Linked DNA regions of Homo sapiens: region 2 is linked to region 1. The links are contacts of gene promoters, found by promoter capture Hi-C in blood cells and fetal thymus (Javierre and others, 2016). All regions are on one chromosome and are shown on one strand. Each heading gives the region's core, a stretch centred on a gene start or on the middle of the fragment in contact. The rest is flanking DNA. Distances are from core to core; before and after follow the strand shown. Region 1 holds the start of AGO2 (argonaute RISC catalytic component 2). Region 2 overlaps DENND3 (DENN domain containing 3).

The links. The method cuts DNA at HindIII sites, captures the fragments that hold promoters and counts their contacts. A CHiCAGO score of 5 or more calls a contact.
Region 2: a contact is called between a fragment that was not itself captured here and the fragment with the promoter of AGO2 in region 1, in 1 of 17 cell types (total CD4 T cells). The highest score is 5.3, in total CD4 T cells.

The regions. Positions count from the first base shown.
Region 1 is chr8:140,632,614-140,638,452 of GRCh38, forward strand. AGO2 (argonaute RISC catalytic component 2) reads right to left here and starts at 3,020. Exons shown (of 19, transcript NM_012154.5): 1 at 2,872-3,020. The coding sequence starts at 2,893. It overlaps ERICD (E2F1-regulated inhibitor of cell death), which reads left to right and starts at 1,622. Exons shown (of 1, transcript NR_170171.1): 1 at 1,622-5,670. RefSeq lists enhancers at 491-1,258, 1,259-2,025 and silencers at 1,832-1,881, 2,365-2,534, 3,185-3,584. The HindIII fragment of the contact is 24,992 bases long and covers 1,588-5,839 here.
Region 2 is chr8:141,182,322-141,188,160 of GRCh38, forward strand. It overlaps DENND3 (DENN domain containing 3), which reads left to right. Exons shown (of 23, transcript NM_001352890.3): 18 at 2,818-2,957. Among named protein-coding and RNA genes, the nearest start is that of DENND3-AS1, 55 kb to the left of the region's middle. RefSeq lists enhancers at 241-350, 1,111-1,160, 1,241-1,380, 2,081-3,035. The HindIII fragment of the contact is 3,747 bases long and covers 1-3,124 here.

The DNA.
Region 1 (5,839 bases), core at 1,770-4,269:
AGACACAGATCAAGACCTTTAAATGGTTAAAAAACCAAAAAACTAATTTGTTCATCAGTGAAGGTTCAAGGTCATTGGAGAATCCACCCATCTTAAACAACTAACTCAGTTCAAAAAACGAAAAAATAGTAACATTTCTAACTTCAGATTCTAAATAGCATTCACATACGTCACAGCATTTGTTTGTGATTGGTATAATGTAGAGCTATTGTGAACTGCTTTTTAAATTAGTAAGTTGCCTAATAAGGGTGTTACAATTGGAAGTAGCAAAACTATTTGTAATTTTTCTTTTCTTTTTTTTTTTTTTCTTGAGATGGAGTCTCCAAGTCTCACTCTGTCCCCAGGCTGGAGTGCAGTGGCGCAATCTTGGCTCACTGCAACCTCTGCCTCAAGGGTTCAAGCGATTCTCCTGCCTCAGCCTCCCGAGTAGCTGGGACTACAGGCGTGCACCACCACGCCCAGCTAATTTTTGTATTTTTAGTAGAGACGGGGTTTCATGATGTTGGCCAGGATGGTCTCGATCTCTTGACCTCGTGATCCGCCCGCCTTGGCCTCCCAATGTAATTTTTCTATAATTCAAATTGAATGTCTTATAATTCTAAATTAGAAAGTATAAGATTAAAAAGAGTCTCAATGAAGACTATTCCAAAAATTCCTTTTACACAAAATTAAAAGCCTTAATGTGTAGCATAAAATGGAACTGCACCACAGACTTATAATTACAGCACGTTTGTACAACCTGAAACTTGGGTTCATTCCCATCCTGCCATTAGCTATGAATTATCCTGCAGACACATTTATTCTTTCAACCACTGTCCTGTTCCAGAGGGTCCACTCCCTACCAGGCCCACACCAAGGCAACAATCTCCAAAAAGCAGCGAGTGACAGAAACGAGCCTGTGGATCATGAGGGCCAAGGTACGCTGAAAAATGAAATCGACAAGACAGCATCCCGGGGCAGTGCACACAGTACAGCAGTGAGCTGGGGTGGCTTCCTGAAGCCCCGCTGTCAATGACAAGTATGCGGGCAGGTGCTGGTCCAGTCCAGCCCTAACAGAGACTTCTTACTGTGGGTCTGGGTTATAGGGCTTGAAAGGGACTGCCCTGAGGAAGGCACCCAGAGAACCAGCTCGGAAGTCGGACCGATTGTCCTGATACTCACTCACTGCTGTGTGACCTTGGTGAAGTTCTCAACCTCTGTGAGCCTCGGCTGTCTGTCTTCACAAACACCACCAACCTCAGCAAGTGGAGTGAATTAAGTAACACGCAAAACACAACACAGAAAGCTTGACCTTCCTTAAAGCCTCTTCACTTTTTCTGGGCCTCCAACTTTTAAAACCGATAACCTGAAAAAATGTAGTGCTGTCAGTCCCATAAGCTGGGTTCCTCTACAAAGAGGAGCTGGAAGGTCCCAACTCACAAGGGGATGCCCGGTCCTTTCCCAAGAGGGGGCCTGGCCACCCAAGGCCTCTAGAGGCCAGCACCTGCTCCAGGACTGCGGCCCCTCCCAGGTGGAGGGGGAAAATCATTCTTCAAACTGCTGATGGCCCTCAGGGGTTGAAAAGTTGGTCAGACTCCGCCTTGTTGAAGCTTTCTAAATGACATCAGAAAAAAGACGCGACATTCGCAAGGCACAGAGCCAACAGCTCCAGCAGTGGGGGCCACCATCAACGGACCAAGGTGGGCCAGGGGGCCTTCCGGACCCCACAATTTGGGGCCGGTCTGCAGCAACGAGGGCAGCATCGGGAATGCGAGCCTCCTCGCCCGGCCGGGTAAACATAAGCCCAGAGCCCGGCGGGGCCTGCGCCGCCTGCGGCCCGGCTGGGGCCCAGCGGACAAAGGGGAGCAGGCGGTGCCCCGTCCCAGCGGCCAGGCCGGCCGAGAGAGCCAGGAGCCACGTGCCCGGTGGGAGCACGCCAAAAGCAGGAGAACACCTGACCGTTTTTTTGGCCCACCAAGGAGACCGCCTTCTACTCTGCATTTAAAAAGAAAAACAACGCGTTACCGCTTTAAGTTTTTTAGAACTTTTCCAGAGAAAGGCCGACTAGCAACAAGGGGTGCTACAGGAATCCACCTCGCCTCACCTCTCCTAGGAAATTGTAAAAGGAATTAGCACTTGAATGGGGAGGCCGGCGTGTCTGGAATGAGAACGAGCCGCGCACGCAGTTTGAGGGTTCCGGGGAGCCGCGTCCTCCCCTTTCCAGGCGACAGCCCTAACTACAGGAATTGGCCAAAATTCAGCATTTCCAGACTTTCCTTGGGAAAAGGGGCCGAAGAAGTGCCGGCAACAAGAAGGGCCACAACGGAGCGCGCCACAGACTCACCGCGGCTGGGGTCGGGACCGGCGCAGCCCCCTCCCCTCCCGCCCGTGCGCGCCCCGAGCCGGGCGCCCCGACCCGGCCTCCACCCGCTCAGGCGCTCAGGGTCAGGCCGGGCCGGGCTGCGGCGCCCCCATCCCCGCCCGGGCAGCGAGGCCGGGCCAAGCGGGGCGCTCCGGGCCTCGGGCCTACACGCGGCGGCCGCCTCGGCCCCGGCCCCAGCCCGCGGGCCCCGGGCGGGGGATGCGAGGACGCTGGGACGCGGGCCCGAGGCGCGGGAGGGGCCCAGGCCGCGCGGGGCGCCCCGACGACTCGCGGGGGCCGAGGAGGCCGGGGCTGCGCGTCCAACGCGGGGCCGAGAAAACGGCCGGCTCGGCCCCGCCGCCGCCGCTCCTCGAGCCCCCAAGCGCGGCCCCGGCTCGCCCGCCCCCGGCCCCCGCCGCCCCGACCCCGCGGCCCCCCGATCCCCGGCCCCTGCCGCCCGCGCCGGGCCCGCCAACCACGGGCAGGAGCGCGCGAACGGCCGGGCGGGCGCCCCGAGCGCCAGGACTCACCGGGGCCGGCTCCCGAGTACATGGTGGCGCCGCCGAGGGGCTCCGGGGCCGAGGGGCGGCCGCGCGCGCGCCACGGGCCCCGACGCCGCGAGCCGCGAGGGAGCCGCCGGCCGCACGATCCGCCCCGGCGCGGCCGCCTCGCCAAACAGGTTTACCCGACGCGGCCGGGGCGGCGGGCGGAGGCGGCGGCGGGAGCGGGAGCGGGAGGGGCGGGGGAGGAAGGAGGAGGGAGGGGGAGGGGAGGCGAGGCCGGCGGCGGGAGCGCGCTCGCGGGGGGAGCGGGGCTGGGCGCGCGGGCGGGGTCCGCGGCGGCGGCGGCGGCGGCGCCGGGTCTGGCGGGGCCTGGGGCGGGGACCCGGGGAGGGGCCCGGAGACCTCGCCGGGCGGTGGGAACCGCGGGCGGGAGCGGGGACGAGGGCCGAGGGCGGCGCGGCCCGTGTGGCGCGGGGGCGGGCGCGGCCCCGGGGACCCTTCACTGCCACCCAGAGAAGCCGCGTCTTCCCGACGGGGAGGAGCCGGGCCCCCCGGCTGTGCCGCCGGAGCCGGAGGGGAGGCCACGCGCCCCCGCTTTCCCCGCCGCCCCCCGGTGGGGGGCGCAGAACCCTCCCACCCTCAGCCCCTCGGCCCCCAGCCTGGCTCTTTAAGTTACTACAGAAACACGGAGGTCGGGAAGCTCCCTCCCAGCCCGGAGCTTGAACTTGAACGCGGCCGGCCGCTCGCGCAGGACCACACCGCCACCTCCCGGCGCGGCCCCAGAACCCAGATAATCCGTTTAAAGCACTGAGAAAATCTAAGAAGTTTTTAGTAAACTGTAGCTGGTATCAGGGATCAGATCAGCGGACACGCCCATTCCAGCAGTCAGGGGCCTGCTCGGACCGTCGTGCACCTCCGAGCGTTTCTGTCCGGTCCCTCTGGGTCCGTCTGGTTTTCGGAGGCTTTCCTGGAAAAGCCAGCCTGTGGCTACCTCCTTTCTCCCCTAAGTGATGGAGGATTAGAAGGCAGAGGTTGACCCACAATCTAAAGTGCCTGGTCGCCTTTTCCCAGATTTCCCGGAGCATTCCTTCACCCCGTGGCATCGGCTGTCTGCATATGGGTGCAAGGCCCTGTTCCGGGCGGAGAATAAACAGGAGTTCTGACTGACAGGAGCTCCGCAGCCAGCAGGGTGGTCACTAGTTCTCTGCAGTCTCGGAGGACAGCCCTGAAGAAGGGCAGGAGAACCAGCACTTCCTCCGAAAACTCAAAAGGACATCAGTCTTCACCAAGTTGCCGATACAAAACGTGCTCCTGAAATGTGTAGTAATGAACACCAGGAAACCTGGGTAGGAGTGTGCATGGCATTCTTCATCACCGCTTGGACTGCATGGCACTGAATACCCACGGAGAGCAGGATGGAGAAACAGTGTGCTCATATTCACAGGATGGAATCTAGCCATTCACAAAAATTCCAAAACAGGCAAAATTAAACTGCATTCTTTAGGGAAGCATCATTAAGTAGTAAATAATTGACAGAAGGGCAAGAAGGTGCTTACTCTAAGTGTCAGAATGGTGGATACAGCTGGGGGTGAGAGGGCTGTGACCACAGCAGGGCCCCTGGGGGATTTGGGGGTGCCAGGCCTGTTCCTTCCTGCAATGGTGCCCTTTGGCAGCCATCCCTTAAACTGCACTTTTACTTTATATGCTTTTCTGTACCTTTACTGTAGTATTTCACGGAAATTTTTAAATAATCATGAATGTTACCACTTTCCTATTTATGAACCATGCAACCTCATCAATCTTCCCAGTTCGCAGATGCCCACCCTCTCTCTCTGCCCCTGTCTCCTTCACATATCCCCAAAACTCGTTTTGGCCCGAAATCCCTGAGGCCCAACTGCCCTGCTGTCAGCGACTGCACGCCTCAGCAAAGGCCCAGAAGGCTCTGTCATCACTGGCTGCCCTCAGCCCGCCTTCAGCTCCTTTGAGCGCTGTGTTGGGGAACTTTGTTGCAAGGATTTCGTTCCAGAAGGCAAGATAATGTCTCTGAGGGCTTCATTGTGTCACTTCTCTTTGGATGGCGGACACCGTGGCCCTCTGCTGGCGGAGGGGTGCCATTGCTGCCTGCCCCATCTCTATCCCCAGGGCCCATGCAGTCACTGGGTTCGCCCTCTGGGGCACGGGGTTCCCTCTGCTCTTTTCCTAGATAAGCCCATTCTCTGCAGGTCTCTACCCTCCACACCTGTGTTCAGGAATTCAGCCCGCTTCCTGCAGCCCCATCCCTACCCTCCTCCCAACCTGCTTTTCTTCTGGTGTCCCTCACTCAGCATGGCTAACAGATCCACCACCCAACGGAGCTGAGAACTGCAGTCCCCTCTGCCTGTTACCTCTCCTGCCATTAGTGAACCTGCTTAACTCATCTGACTGTGCGTCTCGGTGCTTGCTGTGACATGTCTCCAGCCCTTGCTGCTCTGTCCCCCAGACCCACGTCCCACACCCGGATGGTGACTCAGCCGACTCTGGGTCTTCTGGACCCAGTGCTTCTCCCTGATACAATTCCTTCCTCTGTGTTTTAGGATCCTGATGCTTTGATAAGACCGTGGGCTCTAATCACAGCCAGGGACATTTGCAGCAGCCTGGCCTGCAGCTCTGCACACTGGGTGCACTCAGTCTAAAGCACCAGCTCCCCATGAGAGAGAAAGAAGGGGTGAGGGGAAGTACAGAGAAAGCTCCTGAGGCCACAGGGCTGACAAAGCCCTCGGCTTTGGGGGCACTTTGTTTCTTCAAGACTAAAATGCAGGCAATGGAATAAATCATTTGTTCCTAAAACATGTTCTGCACATGATTAAAGCAGCTTTGGGAAGTCAAGTAAATTGGGAAGCACTGGATCAAACAATGATAAATAAGTTTATTGTCTGCAGGCCTTCTCAGAGCCTGTAGCAAGGTGAGAAGAATCATGCTTCTACAAAGAGGAAGGAGGGCATGAGACAGTATGCAA
Region 2 (5,839 bases), core at 1-2,500, 550 kb after region 1:
CCAAGAAACCCAGGAACGCGATAGACCCTGGCTGAGTGAGCAGGCAGCGTCATCAGGGCCGCCCCGCGTGAGCCCTACCTGATGTGTCTAAGCCAGGCTCTGTGCTGACTTCGCCAGAGATGACTCCACAGACCAAGATACTTTGACCGTGGCATTTGAATACATGGTATTTTTAGGTCCCGGTTGGTTTCCCTGAAATGAAACTCACTCTGAGCTTCCTGTTGTGACGGGCGAGGAGTTCAGGCGGCTTCCCCTCCAGGAGCATCTCGAAGGCCTGCAGAGAGCGTGCAAAGCAGCCGTGGGGAATGGGGAAACCGCCTTTTCCTGTGGCTGCCGATTCTGGAAGGGGTGGCCGAGAAGCTGGTAGCCGAGCAGGGCTTTTGCAAGCCTTGTGAGATTGCAGGGACAAGAGGTGGGGTCAGGCCCCATCAAGAAGGGGGAGTCTTGTTATTCCCATTAGCTTGGGGCTGGGTCTCCGACAGGTTCCTAGGAGTTAGGAGAACCAGCCCTGAGGCCAGGCCACAGGTCAGCTCAGGCTCTGCCCATGGGGAGCGTGCCTCTCAGAGACGGCAGTGTCTCACCCATGGGAGCAACAGACCACTGGAATCGCACCCCAGAAAGACCGGGAGGCCTGCCCTTCTGGACTCAGGACGGAGGCAGCACTGCAGGGCGGGGGGTCGCTTGAATATCCTCAGGGGAAAGGTGAAACCTCGCCCCTTCACACTGCCCTGCGGTCAGGCCCAAGGGGGCCGAAACCTCAACGCGGTGGTAAAAGGCAAATGTGAACAATGAAAGCAAGCAGACTTCTAGGTGATAGGGTAGAAGAATATTTTCATGACTTTATGGTAAAGAAAAAAATGCATAAATTATATATAAAATACCATAAAGGAAAAGAATGTTGAATTTGACTATATTAAAAGCAATGACTTTATTATTTTTATTTTTTCTGAGACAGGGTCTGACTCTGTCACCCAGGTGCAGTGGCGCGATCACACCTCACTGCAACCTCTGCCTCCTGGGCTCTAGCGATCCTCCGCCCTCGGCCTCCTGATTAGCTGGACTGCAGGTGCACACCACTATGCCCAGCCAATTTTTGTATTTTTTTTTTTTTTTTTTGTAGAGATGGAGTTTTGCCGTATTGCTCAGGCTGGTCTTGAACTCCTGAGCTTGAGCAGTCTGCCGGTTTTGGACTCCAAAGCGCTGGGTTAGAGGCGTGAGCCACCACAACTGGCCAAAAGCAATGATTTTAAAAAGAAGACACTTTTTTTTTCCTCCTTTCAAATGAGCTGGTTTAATTCACGGTGACACAAAATTGAGGGTAGAAGACCAAAGAGCGCCCTCTGGCAGGCTCAGGTGGGAATGACGGGTGAGAAGCCACTGAAGACGTCCGGTGACACTGTCAGTTTTTTGTTTTGTTTTTTTTTTTTTTTAATTTAAAAAAAAAAAGAAAAGTTTATGCTTGAAAGTGCAACAGGCTCCAGGGCAACGCTCACTCTAGCTGAAGATGGCAAAAGCTGTCCTGGCGGGGGTGCAGGTGTTGAAACAGGAGTGGAGTCCAGGCCGCCACCGCCCAGGCAGAGGGAGCAGCGTGCTTTCCGCCAGGGGTCTTAGTTCCAGCTGTGGCTGGGCCTCCCTGCGGCCTGTGCTTTCGGCCCCTTGAGGTTCTGGTCTGTTTTGCTTTCTGCTGGAAGCCTCATCATCTCTGTCCCTCTCCTGGGCCTGCTTCTTGGGCTGTCTCAGAGGCTTCTTGCCATCTTCATGGCCGGACACGGCGCCTACAGCCTCTTCCCCAGACCCTGCCACAGGAAATGGACAGAAGACACTTTTGAGAGGGTGAAAATGTAAGCTGCAGACTGGGAAGGATCTTTAAAATGGGTGCTGCTAAAATCATTGCTTTTAATGTAGTCAGATTCACCAGTCTTTTGCTTTATGGTATTTTTATATGTCATACGTAATTTATGAATACAGCACCATGGAGTCAGTTAGGGGCTCATATCCAGAACACCGGAACAGCTGGCCGGGCGTGCCTGTGGTCCCAGTGAGGTGGGAGGGTGGCCAGAGCCCTGGACTCGGAGCCTGTGGTTTGCTGTGATCGCACCTGTGAACACTGCTGCACTCCAGCCCGGGCAACATGGCAAGACCTCGTCTATTAAAAAGTAAAAAAAAATAAAAATAAAAAAAAATAACAGCCACAAACTAGGGAGAACGAAAAACAGACACTTCCCACAAGAGGGCATGGGGATGGCCAGTTCAAGCCATCAGGCTCATTAGCAATTAGAGAAATGCAATTAAACCACAATTTAAAAGCCAAAAGCTCCACACCCTTAGAATGGCCGAAATTAAAAAGATGGACGGACGCCAGCAAGTGTTGGGAAAGACGCGGAGCCCGCTGCACATGAGGGTGTGGGGGGCACCATGGCCCCTGCCGCCGTCTCTCCAGCTGCCCTCCCTCCCTGCCTCCCTCCCTCTGTGTCCACCTGCTCCTCTTCCAGTTCCCTCTGCCTGGCTGTTTCCTCTAGTGAATGCTCACTCAGCTGGCAGGTCCTGGCTTAGCAAAGCTCACAGGCATTCGGCTCTGCATCTGCCTGCGGCTCTGACCCTGTCTTTGTGGCCCTCTCACCAGCCAGCTGCCCCCCTTGACTCTGAGCTCCCAGAGGGCAGGGAAGCCTCTGCCTGGGCACGTCTTTGTACGTACAGCACCTAACATGGGCCTGGCGCTTAGGAGGGCCCAGGAGGCACCTGAGTAAGGGCACCAGTCACCTGCTGCTACAGCAGAAGTGTTTCCTCCTAACAGTTTTGTGCTGCTCTCCTCTTTAGGGCATCTTGACCCAGCCGAAAAAGTTGAAGATGCTCACCCCAAGTTATGGTGTGCTCTGAGCGAAGGCAAGGTGACCGTGTTCAATGCTTCTTCATGGACCATCCACCAGCACTCCTTTAAAGTGGGCACTGCAAAAGTGGTGAGTACACGAAGCGTCAGGAAAGAAGCCTCTGAATTCACGTGATTTCTGAAACCCAAGTGTGTTCATCCATATTCGACAGTAGGATACAAGCTATTCCACAGCCTCACTCGGTTTCTGTAAACAGGGGGTCTTAACTTTCACCTGGAGTTTTCAAATTAAATGTAAGCTTGTTCCAAACTTCTACTTACACGTCCTTATTGAAGGAGAAGATAATGGCTTTGACTTTCTCATCTAAAAACAGATTTCAGGCCCCCATCTAAAAATAGATTGCAGGGGCTCACACCTCTAATCTCAGCACTTTGGGAGGCTGAGGTGGGTGGATTGCCTTGAGCCCAGGAGTTTGAGACCAGCCTGGGCAACAGAGTGAGACCCCATCTCTACAAAAACTACAAAAATTAGCCGGGCATGGTGGAGCGTGCCTGTAGTCCCAGTTACTTGGGAAGCTGAGGTGGTAGGATCGCTGAGCCTGGGAGGTCGAGGCTGCAGTGAGCCAAGATCGCGCCACTGCACTCCAGCCTGGGTGACAGAGCCATACCCTGTCTCAAACAGACAAATAATAATAATAATAAAATAATAAAAATCGACGTCAGTTCTGTGAAGTGGAGCCATTGTGGTCTCTGCCTGCTTATTACAGGCTTCACACACTTTGGGAACAATTTCCTTCTTTTTTTTCTTTTTTGAGACAGGGTCTTGCTCTGTTGCCCAGGCTGGAGTGCAGTGGTTCAGTCATGGCTCACTGCAGCCTCGACCTTCTGGGCTCAAGGGATCCACCTCGGTCTCCTGAGTAACTGGGACTACAGGTGCATGCTACCATGCCTGGCTAATTTTGTATTTTTTGTAGAGATGAGGTTTTGCCACGCTGCCCAGGCTGGGAACGATGTCTTCCATCCTGTACTGCAGCACTAAGGTTCCCAGGGACCAGGGCCTTAAAATGAACCTGCAGTGTTTCCTGGGAACCCTGGTGTTTCCTGGTGGCACAGTGGTTACTGGGTCTCTTTTGGAGCAAAAGAGGAGACAGCTGCCTCTGCAGTGACTTCAGTGTTATCCACCTGTCCCCACGTGCCAGGTGGCAGAGACCAGGGCCCAGCAAAACTCAGTGTCCACTCGTCACACATTATTCCTCTCACTTAGAGCAAGCTTGTCCAACCTGTGGCCTGCAGGCTGTACGTGGCCCAGGACGGCTTTGAATGAGGCCCAACACAAATTTGTAAACTTTCTTAAAACATATGTTGAGTTTTTTTTGCAATCTTTTTCCTTCTAGCTCATCAGCGATCGTTAATGTTAGTGTATTTTATGTGTGGCCCAAGACAATTCTTCTTCCACTGTGGCTCAGGGAAGCCACAAGAGTGCACACCCCTGATTTAAAGCAAGTTTGAATTGTTTCTGATAATTTTAAAACAAGTGCAACTGTTAATACATTTTTAGTAGTGTGTCCTTGGCAGTGCCATGGTGTGTCGCTTCTTCCATGACCATGGTATCTTGAGTGTGGAAGCTGGGATTCCTGCCCTGCTCATCCCTCCAGGCCCCCAGCGGCCCCTCCTGCCTGCAGACCATCATTTCTTGGGGATTTTCCCTGTTTGCCCGTCAGCGCTGTGAGCTGCCCCTCCCTGCGGATCTGTGTGCGCTTCCCTGTCGCCCGAGAGGCCGCTGAGTAGCTCCCCGTGCTCTGAGACCCCACACTCCCCCGCACCGTGGCCTGCGCGCCCTTTGTCCATGTTTCTCCTGTTCTTGCTCATGGATTTGCAGATGACGTTCACATTTAAATTGCATTTTATAGTTTTCAAAATATTTTCGCATCTACACTCTCCTCCTATCTGGTCACCCTCCAAGCAGCCACCCCATCATGGGATCTGCTGAGAAATCCTCATGCCTTACTCCTTGAGCATGATAGGATTTTTTTTTTTTTACATGTTTAATGTGAAAAGAACACTCCAGTGGAGTATATACCTAAGTATATATTAGGCATTGGCTGGTACCATTTTTTTTTTTTTGACAGGGTCCCTCTCCCATTGCCCGTGGCTGGAGTGTAGTGGCACAATCGCTGCTTACTGCAGCCTGGACCTCCCGAGTAGCTGGGGCTATATAGGTGCGCACCACCACACCCGGCTAATTTTTGTATTTTGAGTAGAGATGGGGTTTCACCGTGCTGCTCAGGCTGGTCTCAAACTCCTGGGCTCAAGCAGTCCTCCCGCCTCGGCCCCGCCAAAGTGCTGGGATTACAGGTGTGAGCCACTGCGCCCGGCCATGGTATCAGTTTTGATGGCTGTGTTCCCTTGTCTAAAAATAATGTGGGAAAATCCGTGGCACAGTATGTGCTTGCAAAACTGCTATAAAACAAATACTGTGAACTCAAATACATACCACCAAGAGGGTGGGACCACTCTTGAGATACCTGAATAGCAAACTTTACATGTTAGAAGGTAATAAGAGCCTGCTAAATCATTTCCCCCCATATTCAAATCATGAGCCTCAGATGATAAAGTAATAGGATCCATGATACAGTAAAAATATTGACAAAAGTCTAGTAATGCTTTAAACCAAACAACAAAAAAAGGAAAAATTAGGGAAATTATTTTTCTAAATTTAATTTTTTTCAGTTCGTTCTTAGTTATAAGCATTTCAAGGCTGGGCGCAGTGGCTCACGCCTGTAATCCCAGCACTTTGGGGGGCCGAAGCAGGAGGATTGCTTGAGTCTAGGAGTTCGAGACCAGCCTGGGCAACGTGGGGAAACCCTATCTCTACTAAAACTGCCAAACATCAGCCAGGCGTGGTGGCATCAGCCAGGCGTGGTGGCATCAGCCAGGCGTGGTGGCCCATGGCTGTAGTCCCGGCTACTCGGGGGTCTGAAGCGGGAGAATCGCTTGAGCCGGGAGGCTGAG